2 separate regions of the Homo sapiens genome follow, and region 1 is linked to region 2. Evidence: promoter capture Hi-C in 16 types of primary human blood cells and fetal thymus (Javierre and others, 2016). All regions are on one chromosome and are shown on one strand. Each heading gives the region's core, a stretch centred on a gene start or on the middle of the fragment in contact. The rest is flanking DNA. Distances are from core to core; before and after follow the strand shown. Region 1 has its middle 10 kb from the start of ACTRT3. Region 2 holds the start of RPL22L1 (ribosomal protein L22 like 1).

Evidence for each region. The method cuts DNA at HindIII sites, captures the fragments that hold promoters and counts their contacts. A CHiCAGO score of 5 or more calls a contact.
Region 1: a fragment that was not itself captured here is called in contact with the fragment with the promoter of RPL22L1 in region 2 in 2 of 17 cell types (naive CD4 T cells and naive B cells); the score reaches 5.7 in naive CD4 T cells.

What each region holds. Positions count from the first base shown.
Region 1 is chr3:169,757,864-169,760,979 of GRCh38, reverse strand. No RefSeq gene overlaps it. Among named protein-coding and RNA genes, the nearest start is that of ACTRT3, 10 kb to the left of the region's middle. The HindIII fragment of the contact is 1,828 bases long and covers 418-2,245 here.
Region 2 is chr3:170,868,743-170,872,000 of GRCh38, reverse strand. It overlaps RPL22L1 (ribosomal protein L22 like 1), which reads left to right and starts at 1,806. Exons shown (of 4, transcript NM_001099645.2): 1 at 1,806-1,842. The coding sequence starts at 1,834. RefSeq lists enhancers at 642-1,367, 1,368-2,094, 2,264-2,313. The HindIII fragment of the contact is 15,380 bases long and covers 1-3,258 here.

The sequences.
Region 1 (3,116 bases), core at 82-2,581, 1.1 Mb after region 2:
GTATTGCAAGAGAAGACAAAAATTCAGATTTTTATGTCAACACCACTGATTATAGAATGTTGGTAGCTAAATTGAAATAAAATTTAAATATTATATAAGTGCATGGTAAAGAATTTGGATGGCTTTTGTTCCTGAACCCTGGGAAGTAGCCTCTAAACCCTTGGAATTCACCAAGAATGGTGGGAGTGTCTTTTCTTGGTAGGCCTCTTGGACTAGACCCAATAGTTTACACTAACGAGATGACTCATGACTGGGGGTTGGTCAGCCATGTGATTAGAGTGTTGGGGCTTTGGGCCCCATGATACTAGCCCGACCTCTTGAGAGACTTGGAGCCACATGTCTGAGCCTTATGACTAGTGATTCATCCAATCATGCCTGTAATGAAGCCCCAATAAAAACTCTGGACACACTGAAGCTTGGATGAACGTCCGTGGTTGGCAGTACTCAGTGTGCTAGGAGGAAAATGTGTCCCTGAGGACATGAGGAGAGGGACAATGGAACCTTCTTTCTGGGACCCTCCCAGACCTCACTCTATGTGTCTCTCCCTTTGGCTGGTTTTGATTTGAATCCTTTTGCTATAATAAAACCATAATAATAACTATAATAAACATCCTTTTGCTATGATAAAACTGTAATAAAACCGAAATAACACTTTCCTGAGTTCTCTAAGTCATTCTACTGAATTATGAAACTTGAAGGGGTAGTGGGAACCCCTAAATTTGTAGGCAGCTTGTCAGATGTAAGGATGGCCTGGGGACCTCCTAGCTTAGGTTGTTGATAGCTGAAGTCATTGCAATGCACCAATAAAAAAACGTTTTGAGATAAAATCTGGTCTATTATAGGCTATTAATTTGCGACCTTTGGCCTAGGCAAATTTAAGCATTCCTGAGTGCTTTCTCTAGAAGGGTGAGGGTTTGGACCATCCTACCAGTTTGAGGCCTACCCAAAATAAATGTATTTGAGAGGAGTTTACACTGGTGGTATCTGTTATAGGTTTCTGGGAATATCACTAAAGAGAAGTTTCAAAATTAAATTTTAATAATATTCTGAAAATAGTAGTGCTAATCCTTCACGTATAGGGGTTAGGGTATTTCTTCCAGTGGTTCTGCCTGAGGGGTGGGCCTGTTTTTCAGTGTCCATTCTGTCAGTCGTTATGGGATGTGAAGAGGGTTCCAAGGGTTCCACCATCACTAGGTGGAAATGAGGCAACTTTTCCCATATTTTTCCTTTACTCTGGTTTGTATCTCCCCTCCTAGGTAGGTATCAAAGTATATATGGTCTTCATTTGTGTTGCCTCAAATTCTCATTTCTTCCTTGATATAAAAAGGAAACAGGAAGACATTGAAATAAGGATATTATTGTGGTCCTGTACTTTTACCCTGTTCTAACCTAGCTGAGGGAATCTAGCATAAGTCACCCAACTTTACATTCCACATGTGTCAACCGGATGTACTAAGACTTCCCTTGAAGGGTGGTTGTGGGGAGAATATATGAGTAATATATATGACAGCAACTGGTATTATTAATGAGAGGAGAAGTCTGTCTTACTCTTTACTTTGCAAGTAATGATTTTACAGCGCTCTGATGGGTATGTTGTAGTTACTCTGGCAGGAAGTGGTTTTGACTTGGGTATATAGTTAAGAGATATATGGAGAAGGGTGGAAGTGCTAATGGTTTGTGAATTTTTAAAATAACACCAATTATGAACTTGATGCACACCTGCAGCTAGAATCTTTCTCTAGATGATGTTTGACTATCATTTTTTTTTTTTTTTTTGTCTTGGGGCTCTAGGTTTTCACTTTGGTGATATTTATGTGTGTACTATGGCTGTCTATATAAGTGTTAAAAGGCATAATTATAGTTATTAAAAACAATTTAAGGAAAACAGAAAAATGCAATAATGAAGAAATACAAATACTGACTTTTTTGTATGATCAATGAGGATATTATAACTAAAATGAAAAACATTATACATATCAGTTGCAAAAACAGTTACATTCCCCACAATCTTTTTAAAAAATGCGAGTAGTTTGCTAAAGTGAACTGGGTGACTTATTTTCAACCTTGGAAGAAAAACTCAATTAAAGCTACATTTGAACTGTAATGGCACCAAGGAGTTCAACTTGACCTCATATGCCAGATTATAATCATCTTTCAAGTGTACAAACAAGGAAGCATAGTTATCAAAGAATGAGAAATACGTTTGTTCAAAGACCATTTACTGCTTTAACAAGAGGTGAAAGCTTGCCAGAAATATATAAACACCTACCCCAGTGCTATTCATAGGCTTAACATGTTCAAAGACTTGGGGGCGGAGGGGGGGCAATTTAAAAATATCTTTGAAGTTGTGGGTATTCATCATCATATCTAATAATGCTTACTTTCTAGAGCCCCTCTCCAAGGAGGGCAAAGCAATTTATCTGACTTATTTTCATGACATCCTTGTGAGATAAGGCAACCACCATTATCTCCCTTCTGCAAATGGAGAAACTGAAACGTTGGGAGGTAAAATCACTTGAAGAAGGTCAGTAGCAGGCCTAAGAATGTAAATACACGCATTTTAGCTTTTAACTGCTATTTTACTTTACAGAAAACTAAACAAACAAAAAATAATTTTAAAAAAATCACATACTTTTTCATTCTCTTTTTAAGTTAAAGAATAATTACTCATCTATCAACTTTTCCTTGGTAAGGAAAACAGTTTAAATGGCTTTTCACAATAACTGGAATCTTATTATACTGGAATGAATGAACCACTTGCAAAGTTGTGATGTTCATTTAACAAACACTAAATACCTAGTCTGCAACATGTTGTATTGTTCAGGGTGTTGAGACTTCAAAGGTGAAACATATATTCCTCATCTTTAAAGGTCTTCCTGGAGAGAGAGATTCTATAAGCAAATTATATGGTGCAGTCTCATGTTATTTAAATTTACTAAATTCATCATTTTATCCCCCAAATCTATTTTTTCTTCCCTTTCCCCTTCCCGTAAATGCTACTGCTACACCCAGGAGCTAAAACCAGTCTTCTGGGCACCACTGCTGATGTCTCATTTTCCCCGCACCCTGCCGTGTCCTCTGGTCTATTTTTTTTTTTTTTGAGATTGGGTCTTGCT
Region 2 (3,258 bases), core at 557-3,056:
CACCATCATTATATATATTCATGTAACAAAACTGTACATGTACCCTCTGAATCTAAAATAAATGTTAAAATTTTTTTAATTAGCTGTCAAATTTTTAAAAAATAACTATAGGGTATTGACTAGCATTGTGTTACTATATACGTGTGCACACGCACAGTTTGGGAAGAACTGAATTATTTACAACTTTTAGTCTTCCCATCTGCACATTTCTCGCTAATATTCTTGTTTTTTTTTCTAATTGACAAACATTTTTCCCCCATTACAGTTTCTAACTAGTTATTTGGTGATTACTAGTTCTTGTGAAACAGGTATGTTTCCATATCCTCCTTGTACAAATGGCTTAATAGTGCTTAAGGAGTTTATTGTCAAGACATGGAAGACTGCTAAAGACAAGCAAAATAGAATCATTTCTGCCCCTCAGCTTAGGCAGCCCTTGAGGAGGAAATGCCAATTGCTCCCTTTAATGTTTGGAAAGAGAAATGTGATTATTGTAGCTCTTAAGGCAGACAACTAAAAAATCTTGTTGAAATGGATTTCTTCTAGGAATTCAGGGCCTCTCTTCAGACTCTACAAGTCATATGCTCTATTAAAGCATAGTTTCCACGATAACTACTTGCTGGCATAAAGGCCACGAACAGTTCTTACTTTCTGGGGTCATTCTTCAAATTAACAACAAAGTCCACCCCATCCCTTACCCCTACCCCTAGGTATGATAATTTCATCTCCACGAAAACATATTACTGCTAAACCCAAGCGGTTCAGCATGCCACTTTTCGGATCTGATGTCAATTTACAATCCTTCAAAGCTCAAAAGCTACTTTTTCCTTTTGTCAGCAAGACACTTCCACCCTCGTGTGTCTTGTACATACTGATAGGTCACAGCAAACATTCATTGAATTTTAACTGGGAGCATTTTGGATGGAAATCAAGAGACCTGGGATTAACTGTAAAACCCATGATAAATTATACCAAACGAATGAACAAGAAGCAAGCACTACGTGTTTTTCCCTTTGAGACAGTCTCACTGTTACCCAGGCTGGAGTGCAGTGGCTCGATCTCGACTCACTGCAACTTCCGCCTCTCAAGGTAAAGCGATGCTCCTGCCTCAGCCTCCCGAGTGGCTGGGAGTACAGACGCGCACCACCACGCGGGCCATTTTTTTTAAAATTGTTTGTAGAGACGGGTTCTCCCTATGCCTACGCTGCCAAGGGTGGTCTCGAACTCCTGGGCTCAAGAGATTCTCCGGCCTCGGCCTCCCAAAGTGCTGGGATTACAGGCGTGGGCGTGTAAGCATATATATACATGATTTTTTTTTCCCGAGGACCTGGTCCCCGAAGCACCAATTTCCCTCAACAGTCATTTAGAAAACGAGGCTCACAGACAAAACACAAACAAATAACTTTTTCGCTGGAGGATTATAACTGCAATAAAAGGAGATCCCAAAGCAACCTGAGACACTGCCTTGCCCTGATTGGAAAGGGGATTCCGGTGATTAGTGAAAGATGACTCCTGCATCCCTCGCGTGCGTCCGTATCCGGGAGCAGCCACTAGGTAACTGTAGAGGCCACTGCAATTAATCGGCTTGAACAGCCAGGAGCGGAAACCCGAGAGTCAGTTCAACCACAGCCACCCGCGTGTGCCCGCGGAAAGCCGATGGCCTACTCTCGTCCGGCAGCGCACTGGTTTCCTGGGTTACCGGCCTCAGCGCTCCTCCCGCTTTCTTTTCCGGGAGGCGACAATCTGACGCTCTCAGCGCGTGACGCAGCACGCTTTGATATAAATGCAGACCGCGCGGCCGTAGCTTCCTCTCTGCTCTCGCGGCCGACTCGCAAGATGGCGCCGGTGAGTGAGCGATGTCTTGGTGGGAGTGTTGTGTGGCAATTTAATGATTTCCGCTGTAACGATTTTTGCATCTGTCGAGTGGAGACGTCTCAGTCAAGATAAAGGGAGGGGAGTAGTGAAGTCTGGGTCAGAAACACAACCAAGACGCGAGGATCCTGAACTGTTTTTCGAGACTCCCTGGCAGCTGCCATGAGGTCTAGTGGAGTTGGAGCTGGGCCCGGAATTGGTTTAGGATGGGTGGTTTTGGACACGCGGGAAAGAGGGAGGCACAACTGTAAATGGGCCGGTGGTACTGCAATCTGAGCCATTTCTTTACTATCTCGCGCCTGATAATGCTTTTGCCACTCAGCACTGGGTAGGGGAATGGTGGGTAATCGGGCCGGTCTGACGACCTTTGCCAGGCCAGAGGGAGCTCCTAGGCGCTCAGCTCCCGCGATGGCCGACATCACAAGTTTTTGAGAACTTTCAGTTGGGGAAGAAGTTTCTCGGTGAAGTAATTTTTAGAAAAGTATAAGTCTAGATTCCAGCAATGTGAAATAAACGTGCTTCAGATGTTTTACTTAAGTCATTAGTAAGGGAACCAGTAAGATGTTAAAATGTTCCTAAGAATATCTGAAAAGCTAGATATACATGCGCAATTTACAAATAAAGTTAGGATAAAATTGCTGGGCTAGCTACAAAACTGGGTAATGCCCAGCATGGCCATAAACCCTATAGGGTTATCTGTTCCATTAGACAGAAGTTGTTTGTGTCTCCCAAATTAACTTCTGCGCCAACTGGGTAATTATCTTTTGGCACATGTTACCATGCTACCTGAGAAAGCAAACTAATGTGTAATACTTGGTAGCCACTTGGGTGAATCTAAATTGGAGGTTATAGTCTGATAAATACAGATTTGTTTGTTCATATTGCAGTGAATGTACATGGTTGCTGGCCACAGTAACATTTTGCTTATGTAGCCATATTATATGGTCTTGGTATAAAAGGTTTGGATATGGAAAATTTAAGTTCCACGGTGTTGGTTTTTAGGTTTTTTTTTTTTTTTGAGACAGAGTCTGTTGCCCAGGTGGGAGTATAGTGGCATGATCAGGCTCACTACAACCTCCGCCTCCCGGGTTCAAGCAATCCTCCCGACTCAGCCTCCTGAATAGCTAGGATTATAAGCATGCACCACCACACCTGGCTAATTTTTGTATTTTTACTAGAGATGGGGTTTCACCATGTTGGCCAGGCTGGCCTTGAACTCCTGACCTCACGTGATCCTCCTGCCTCAGCCTCCCAAAGTGCTGGGACGGCACCTTGCCTTTTTTATTTTTATTTTTTCTTTTTCTTTTCTTTTCTTTTTTTTTTTTTTTACCAAAGTCCCCTTCCCTTGCCTATAATAACGTAAGAATTGAATTTTCTAGACATAGGTGG